Linked DNA regions of Homo sapiens: regions 2 and 3 are each linked to region 1. Evidence: promoter capture Hi-C in 16 types of primary human blood cells and fetal thymus (Javierre and others, 2016). All regions are on one chromosome and are shown on one strand. Each heading gives the region's core, a stretch centred on a gene start or on the middle of the fragment in contact. The rest is flanking DNA. Distances are from core to core; before and after follow the strand shown.

Region 1 (3,065 bases), core at 230-2,729:
AGATTTAGCCAGGTTTGTTCTTGGTTTTGGGGTCCTAAACTGGACAGAGTTTGTTTCAGCTTTGACCTCTTTGCCTGGACACAGTTGTTGAAGGATCTGGGGTTCTGAGGTAGTCATGGTTAGCCTGGAGATTAGGGGTTGAGTCTTGGGCTGGTTTGTTGATTTTGGGGTCCTGAGATGGACAGGGTTTGTTTTGATTTGGCATCCTTGCAAGACAAAAGTGGCTGGAAAATCTGGGGTTCTGAGGTAGTCATGGGTAGCCTGGAGATTTGGGGTTCAGTTGGGCATGTGTGCTCTGGATTTTGGGGTCCTGAGGTGGTCAAGGTTTGTTCAAGCCCTGGCATCCTGGGGGGGATGTGGTAGCTGGAGGATTTGGGGTTCTGAAGTAGTCATGGTTAGCCTAGAGATTTGGGGTTCGGTGTTGGGCAATTTTATTCTGGATTTGTGGGTCCTGAGGTCAGCAGGGTTTGTTTCAGGTTTGGCATGCTTGCGTGGACATGGTTGGCTAGAGGATTTGGGGTTCTAATGTTCTCAAGACCAGCATGGAGGAGGACTTGGGGTTTGCTTTGAGTTTGGGGTACTGACATGGGCAGGCTTGCCTTGGGTTTGGGGGTTCTGCTGAGGACAGGCCTTGTTTCAGACAAGTCTTACATGAACAGAGTTGGCTTTGGGACCTGGGTTCCTTATGAAGACATGGGGAGCCTGAGGGTCTGGCTTCTGGGGGGTCCTGGCTTGGACAGGATTTGCTCAGGGTTGGCAGATGCAGCCCGATCCAGGCAGGACCTGCTTGTGGATTAGGGTCCTGCTGTGGACAAGGTTTGCCTTGATTGGGAGTCCAATTTGAACGCCGTGTGTTTGAGATTGGGAAGTCCCTCTGTGGCCAGGACCCTAAGTGGCCCTTCCATCTGGGTTTCAGGGTGGTTGGGTTTCAGGGGTTTGCTTTGACATCTGGGGTTTCTCACGTAAGCAGGCTTCCCTTTGGGAATCCACTTCAGAAGTGGACAGGGTGCCCTTGCATGTGGCCAGGGAAGGAGTCAGGGCAGGAGCCACCTTCGTCGAGGTACTGGAGCCGCTGGAGGTTGAAGGGGATGCCGACCATCAGGTCCAGCTCCTCTTTGAGCTCCCGCACGGTCATGTCGCCGCGGCAGTTTGCCACTCGGAACATCTCCCCCGTCTCCTCCAGCCGCACCCGCAGGACGAAGACGTCAGGGGCCAAGTCGGGCAAGGCACTCGCGGCCTTCGGGTCACAGACGAGCCGCTGGCTCCGGCCGCGGGCACAGGCCAGGGGCTGCGCGGGGAGGGCCCGCGAGTCCGCCGAGCCCACCCTGGGCCCGCCGCACCCCTGAGCCCCGGCCCGCGCACCGCTCCTGCGTCCCGCATTGGGGTGCAGGCGAGAGGCGCCCCCAGTTGGCCCCGCCGCCCGCGCTCCGCCCGCCCCCGCCGCCGCCCGCCGCATCCCCCAGGCGCGGCCGCGCGTCATCCGCGGCTCGAGTGCGGTGGCCACGCGTCATCGCCGCCCCCGCCCTGACGCCCCAAGGCGGGCCCATGCGCCCCCCGCCCCACTGTGACGCCCAGGCCCCGCCAGGACCGCCCCCTCCAGACGCAAGGCGAGGCCCCTCCCTGCCTGCCGCCCGAGCCTCCAGGGAGACCGATGGGCGGGCGGCCCCCCAAGGTCCCGCAGTCCTTTCCCGCTCCGCGATGAACAAAGCCGCAGTTTCACGCGGCCGCGGGAGACGGTTCTTAAATAATGGAACAGGACATAAGTGCTTCCCAGAGCAACCGGGAGATTTATTGATAAATACAGAGACATCGCCGGGCAGCCACGCTCCGACAACCCGCACTGGGCCCCCGTCCCGAGCTCAGGCCACGTCCCCACCTCCTCGAAGCCTCCAAGCTGCTGTTAATGTCAGTTCTTTTCACCAGGCAAACGGAAGGGGCATTCTTGCTGCTGTTAGGAAACGGTTACCACTTCTCCGTGTCTGTTTAAAATAGGATCTTTGCATAAATTGGGATAAATCACCTGGAGGAATTACACGTAAACAAGGCTGTAAATCACCATTGCATGCATGGCCTGCAGAGTTGTAAAGTGCAGATTTTCGTTATAAAAACACTTCTAGTATGAATGAAAAAAAAAAAAAACCACCAACATTTCATAAACATGACTCCCTGCAGCCGATCTGGTCCCGACATGGGGGTGGATCCCAGAAGCGGGAGACAGCCTTCCACGGAAACTTGCAAAACTGCACCAAAATCTATCAATTTTGAAAATGCTCTTGAATTCTTGGCGGAAGAAAGATGCTGATAAACACATTAAGTGGGGAAATGCTCCCTTGAGAAAGGCTGGGTTGGCTCTATGAAGACACCTTTGGAGTGAGCTGTGCCTGGGAGAAACCCATCTGTGCTTTTCCCTTCATTCACCGGAGATGAGGCTGAGTGTTCAAGTAAACAGGAAGCTTACCTGTGGTGGTCAAATTACAAACACTCAACATGGCACCCATGAATAATTAGAAAATACAAGCGCCGAAGTGACGGGGGCGGGAGCTAGGAGGGCGAGGGGAAACAGAACAATCTTGGAAAAATCTCGGTTGTTGCAAAAAAAGAATAAAATGTATGCTTAAAAATTATTTTTACAGAGAAATTACAGCCATAAAAAATATCTGTGCATTGGAAAGGCACTCATATTATAGAAAAATGTTAACATATAAACGGAAATTGTAAAGGTTAGATTATTTACCAAAGAGTCTCTACAATCTCTCCAAGCATGTTGTGATTCAGCATGCAAATTATACACATCACAACACAAACTGAAGCTCATTTTTTTCCTTAACGGAAAATTAAGCTCTGAATAGAATACAAGATTCCAGTTGAATAATTCTACTTGCTGCTAGATCAACAGATTTTAACAAAACAATCTCAATTTGCGGGCAATAAAAAAAAATTAAAAATTGCTGGTTACCAAAGCAAAACAATATCTCCATTTACTTTAGGCAAGAATTAAACACACGACGGATTGACTGATTTTTTTTTTAATATGTAGCTTCTGATTTATTAACTCACTTTTTGCC
Region 2 (3,037 bases), core at 462-2,961, 420 kb after region 1:
TGTAGTCCCAACTACTTGGGAGGCTAAGGTGGGAGAATCACCTGAGTCTGGGAGGTTGAGGCTTCAGCGAGCTGTGATTGTGTCGCCACATTCTAGCTTGGGAGACAGAGTAAGACCCTGGCTCAAAAAAAAAAAAAAAAAAATGAATTCAGGGATAAGGCTATAACTCATGACAGGCCAATGAGAGTCCATTCTAGGACTTTTGAAACCACTGGAAAAGAGAAATTTCAATCTATTGGGGTTGCTGTCCTGTGAGATAACAGGGCAGAGCTTCCAGAGAGCAATCTGCCACCTCCTGGGGTTCACTGGCTTGAGAATGAAACCAGCACAGGGGAAGAAAGAGCTGAGAGATAGAAACTCCTTGTTGATATGTTTCCTCCTCTGGATCCAGCTACGCATAGATGTTTGGGCCAACACATTTGCTTTGAAGCTTAAGTCCATTTGATTTGGGTTCTGTCCCTTGTGACCAAAGGAGTCTTGAGCCATGCATGGCCACATAGCTAATAAGGGGCTGCTGGTTGCACAGGCAGCATCTGGAGAAGGCTGGAGTCCAGCCCTGCACTTGCACATCACACAAATTACCACGAGCAGGTCAGTGGTCATGGCCATGGGAAAAAAAACTAGAAACGAGTGAGTTGGCTATGTTTCAATACCTGCTAGCGGAAAAACACAATGATTTCCTTTATGTTTTTCAGGGTTTGAGTCATCCAGGTCAGTCCTGGCTTGGCACATTAACTTATTGTTCCTGCCAAGGGAGATGGTTAAGATGGGAGGGTTGATTTATTTGAGTACACATGTGTCCACATCATCCTGGAAAAAAAGTAAAATGCAGATATGCTTTGCTGGCATGTGTTGTGACCCAAGAGGCCTCTTCTTGGCCTCAAAGACCAAAAGCCACGATGTTAGACATTGTTTCAGTCTTGAACTTGACCAAGCATGGGCAGGCACCTGGTATGATGGTGACATAAGGGCCCTGGGAGAGGAGAGTCCTCTCCCCACACGGTGGACAGGGTAGGAGGATTACTTTCTATTGAATAGTCTGAGACAAGAGTGGTGAGAAGGAGCCAGTTATTTGAAGAACCTAGGAAGGAGAGCAAAGCAGGTGCTAAGGAGGTGTGAGGAATGGTGGGAAGGCTAGTGTGGCTGAAAAGGGGTGAGCGAGGGGGACAGAGAACTGCCCTAATCTCTCCACCCATTTTGAGTCTTGACTGTCTGGTATTCTCTAGCACTTAATATAGTTAATCTCACCTTTTGTGCATTAATCCATCCAGTCATCCATTCCGCAAACATTTATCACACCTGACAGTGTAGGGGGTGCTGTCTTCAATGAAGGGTTCACCAAGCAGAAGGGGCAAGACACATCCCCCGCCACTACCCCCACCAGGCAGAGAAAGGCCTGTGAGCCAAGTCCTGGAAAGAAAAAAGCTCACCATTTAGGTGGGGCCTGTTGGGCAGGGCTTTGAATGCCCAGGGGGCACTCCGCCATGTGGAAAGTGTAGAAAACCTAAATGCAGAACTCCAGGAAATACTGATCTATGGGAAAAAAATTGTACTGAAATCCATGATTCTGGAATAAATCAGATCTAGTCTTATACTATATTCTAATACAGCCAAGTGGTGGCAGGGACTGAAGGTTTAAGAGAAAGCGAGAAGAGAAACACTTAAGATGGAGACTACTCCATTAATTAGCTTCATTTTTTTTTTTCTGACAACCAAGAAAAGTCCATCATTAGTTAATATTAGTGATGCCCAGCTTGGTTCAACTTAGAGCACCTGTTTTCTGCTGAGCGTCATTTGAGATCGGCTGGCATGGGCCAGAGGGAGCTGTTTCAGGGCCTCAATCAGGCAGTGACATGATCAGATTTATGCTTTGGAAAGGTCACTGTGGCTGCAGGATGAGGAGGGAAGAGACGGGTGGTTGTTAGCAGGCTGCTGGGAAAATGTACACGATGAGAACCAGAATTTGGGTAGAGACAGTGGAGATGCAAATTCCCTGAAGGCAAGAGTTTTGCTGTTTCATTCTTTCAGCAGTGCCTGGCAAGAGATAGGCACAGCCACTGGTAGATTTTTAGAAATGCCTACTGTATTGAATTGTCTGGTATTAAAAGCTACGGGACTCCAGACAAAACAAAAGTGTTGCCTCTCTCCAGAGTCTCCCTTCTTGGGAGAGGCATCATAGCTGAAGACAGACCCAGATAGGGAGTTTTCTGTTGTTGGAAATACTCAAGGTTTTGAGGAACTATTTGGGGACACAGAACACACAACTCCTGTTACCCGAACCTGGCCCGAATCTGTCTGTCAGATCTGTGCAGACGAGACATATGTTAGGCCTGGGGGCTTTTGCTGCTTGATAAGCAAACAACCATCTGTCTTTCTATAGGTGGGAGAAAGACCAATGTTAAAAGGTGTCTTTGAGATGGTTTAGCCCCCTCTTCCACATGAGTGTGCACTGCAGACACATCTGGATTCCCAAGGTCCAGAACAAGAAGCTCGGAAACGTGCTTAGATTTCCAAGTGTTCAGTTCTCAATACCATGCCATTCTCTTTGGAGTTTATGATGCCTTCCAGGGAGAGCAGAGCCCACGTGAGCTTTCCAACAGTAAGACTACTGCTGTAATAAATCATATTGCCCATTTGTGGCGCACTTACTCTATGCTGAGGTTGTATAAGGGCTTACATGAGCCCTATCTCATTTAAATTGTTTTCACCAAAGGGTGTGTGTCCCACTGCTGACCTGTTGAGCTAACCATCCCCTCTCAGTACTTGAAAACCTGCACCTGCCCAAGCCATGGCCTGGCTTCAATGGGGCTTCCTCCTGCACTGAATGAGATGACAAGAAAACAATGAAACACTTGTCCCCAAAAGTGACTTATTGGATTCGTTGGCAGAATGTTAGAAAGTGGGTATGAAGCCCAAGAAACAGGACACGGAGCCTCACCAAGCCCGAGGAGTATTACCGAATCCTAGCCCAGGCCAAGAATGAGTCACAATGAAAGCTTTTAAAATGTAAAACCATCAACCTAGATTTCAATTCCAA
Region 3 (2,872 bases), core at 99-2,598, 450 kb after region 1:
TGCCATGTGTAGGTGGATATGAGACTCCAGCCTGTGGTGGGAAGAGAAGTCTGACCTTGTCTATGCAGGGTTTTTTTAAGCATTTAGATTAATTTGGTTGCCAAGCCCTGTCTATTAAAAGTGAAAACTAACTTAAGTTTCTCACTCTGTAATACCCAGGTTTTGATGTGCTGCTGAATTATGCATTGGTTTTGAAGTTTCTTAAATAAAAACTAGTGAAATATGTTTTGTAATATAACACAGATAAAAGGAAAAGCTTTCTCTGCGGGAGTGAGCAAATCTAGTGGGAACTAAAAATTTTGTTTTAGGTTCTACTTTATAAATCATTTTGAGAGGTTTTACAGTATATTATTTAGTATTGGCTTCCCTGGTGTTCTGGGTTACTTATTAGAAAAGTCAGCGTGCTCCATCTTCCCTCCAGCCACAAGGCTGTAGGCAGCACGCGCGTGCTCGGCAGTCGGCTAGTCTAAGGGTGATTGAGCGTCGGGAGCTGCTCCCCATGACCGGACTCTCGGTGCTGTCCCCGTGCCTGATGTTTCCTCCTGGTGGATGAGGGGCTCCTCCAGGTGGGCGGGCAGGCTCACTTAGGAAACAAGCCCACCGCGGGGGATGGAGCAGGAGAGATTGCCATTCTCGCCAGGGCTGCCTTCCCGCTGTCTCCTCCTCCCTCCTGTGCCATAGCAAGGTCTGGAAGAGGCAGCGCATGCTCTCCCTGGACGTGCCTCCCGGCGCCCTCTGAACTCTGCTGTCCTCTGGCTCTCCTTTCTCAGTGCTCTGCGTCTTTCGCCAGCCAGGTGGGGCCCTTTGGCATTTCTCTAGCAGGCATGATGGAGTTCCCGCTCCTGCCGAGCTTCCAGGATGCGGTGTTAAGGTGAAGAGATGTGCAGGGTGCAGCCTCGTCCCCAGATTGAGCTTGGAGGGCTCCTTTGCTGTATCGTTAGCGGCACTGGGAGGACGCGCCTCAGAGGGATCTTTCTGCATATGACATCCATGGGGCACACGTGTCTGTTTTTATTTCAAAGGATGAGTTTTTGTTTCCAAATTTAGGGGAGGTCGAAATGGGGCCTCTTCCGGGTGTCTGTTGCCTACCTGCCAGGTACGGTCCTCCAGCCCGTTGTTTCCTTCCGCGGTGAAGGAACTGTGCATTCGCTCCAGGAACACGGACCGGGAACAGGCGACCCGTGCTGCAGGGGCACTTGCCACGGCCTGCAGGAGGAAAAGCCGGGAGAAGCAGGCCCAGCTGCACCCGGAAGCATGAGCTTTCACTTCCCTGTCAGGCTTTGTCTTAGTAGTAGGTTTCCAACAAATCCATTTCCACGTCCAGGGTAAATAAGCAGCACCAGGATCATGGGGCTCTTCCACTCCTGGTGATTGAATTCCGTGGGATTGATTGGAGGGATTACAATCATGTAGCCTGTAGCAGAGACCTCAGTCACTGTGCAGAGAGATCTGGAAGCCTCATTCTGGAAACGAGTGGGACTTGATTTGGGATTTTGGGGAAAATGACGGCCTTTTTTCCCTCCTCTTTTTGTAGGCAGAACAGTATCAAAAGAAGAATCGGAAGATGCTTGTGATTTTAATATTATTTGTCATCATCATTGTGCTCATTGTTGTCCTCGTTGGCGTGAAGTCTCGATAAGTGGCATTGGGTTTTCGTGTGTGCCGCGCGTGTGGATCTCCCGGGTGTGAGGGGCTTGGCCTGCGCCCCGCCAGCTGCCCGCAGAGGTGCAGCCTCGAGGAATCTGAGGGCGTCGGGGCAGCGAACCTTTGCATCCACGGACTCCTCCTTCCCTAGTCCTGCTCAAGCGGTCCGGGGAATGGGTTTTTGTTTTTCCTTCATTGTTGAGAATTTAAGGACCTTTGATACTGCTGCACAATAGAGATTGAGTTCTGGGATCAGTTATAATATATATTTTTTTTAGAAAGAGAAAATGAGCTGAGAGTTTACAGGCACTGCAGAAGCTGTTCAGTATTATATGTGTATATGCTATTTTTTTAGCAGCCATGTCTGAGCAGAATGTTAACATAATTTTTGGAAAAATTTTCTTTAAACCATCTGGTTTTTAAGAAATTTGGTACCAAAAATTGATGAGTAGAGGCAAAAATGCCCCTTCATCTTTCTCTATATATTTTCCAGTTGAAAACAAACTAAGAAGTCCTTTAAGAATTTATAATCCGTTCCCCATTAACTTAATTTAGCTTTTCCATCACTGTTAATGATCAGAGTAACAAAGTGTGAAAAATAAGAAACCATCATTGATGTTAATTAACACATTTAGATGGGCCAGTTAAAACAGCTTCATAAGTTTTAAATTAATTGTAAATGGAATATTCCTCATTTAAAATTTTTGCACTGCATTTTCTACTGTAAACCAAAAGAGGTTACTAAGCAAAACCACCTAAATTTAAGTTGGTGATTTAAATGAATCTCACATTAAAAGAAAGCTTGACAGTGTTATGAAAGCCACCAGACTCAGCCAGTGTGTCCCCATGGGTATCCCCAGCCATCCTTGCTCAATCCATTACTTATATACTAACTACATAATGACCTGTTCAAACCAGACTCTATTTAATGAACTGTGAATTTACACAGAGGCCATTTTAAATGGGTCACCCCATTTAGGATTAGTGGATCTCAAATTATTAACCAAACATCACTCCATTTCAAAGTAAAATATTCCACCAGCGATTTGATTTATTGGCTCTTCCATTGCCACTGAGCAATGCCCAGGAAGCAGGCACATTGCCAAGGACTGGGGGCATCTTGACTAGGAAGCTCCTCGTTTGTGTGAGCGTGGGTCAGACCGCCAAAGTAGGACTTCATCGTTTACCTACCTATTATCAATATGGTGCTTGAATATATTCCTATAAC

What was found. Contacts are between HindIII fragments. The CHiCAGO score rates a contact against its expected background, and 5 or more counts as called.
Region 2: a fragment that was not itself captured here is called in contact with the fragment with the promoter of ANKRD60 in region 1 in 2 of 17 cell types (megakaryocytes and endothelial precursors); the score reaches 7.8 in megakaryocytes.
Region 3: a contact is called between a fragment that was not itself captured here and the fragment with the promoter of ANKRD60 in region 1, in 1 of 17 cell types (endothelial precursors). The highest score is 5.2, in endothelial precursors.

Annotation. Positions count from the first base shown.
Region 1 is chr20:58,227,174-58,230,238 of GRCh38, forward strand. ANKRD60 (ankyrin repeat domain 60) reads right to left here and starts at 1,480. Exons shown (of 4, transcript NM_001304369.2): 1 at 1,051-1,480. The coding sequence starts at 1,480. The HindIII fragment of the contact is 6,586 bases long and covers 1-2,451 here.
Region 2 is chr20:58,645,029-58,648,065 of GRCh38, forward strand. All of the region lies in intron 1 of LOC107985410 (a long non-coding RNA gene), which reads right to left. Among named protein-coding and RNA genes, the nearest start is that of STX16-NPEPL1, 4.7 kb to the right of the region's middle. RefSeq lists a silencer at 2,465-2,759. The HindIII fragment of the contact is 2,566 bases long and covers 429-2,994 here.
Region 3 is chr20:58,674,653-58,677,524 of GRCh38, forward strand. STX16 (syntaxin 16) reads left to right here. Exons shown (of 9, transcript NM_001001433.3): 9 at 1,535-2,872. The coding sequence ends at 1,639. The region is part of intron 8 of STX16-NPEPL1 (STX16-NPEPL1 readthrough (NMD candidate)); the gene reads left to right. Among named protein-coding and RNA genes, the nearest start is that of NPEPL1, 17 kb to the right of the region's middle. RefSeq lists enhancers at 1,175-1,700, 1,701-2,225. The HindIII fragment of the contact is 2,189 bases long and covers 255-2,443 here.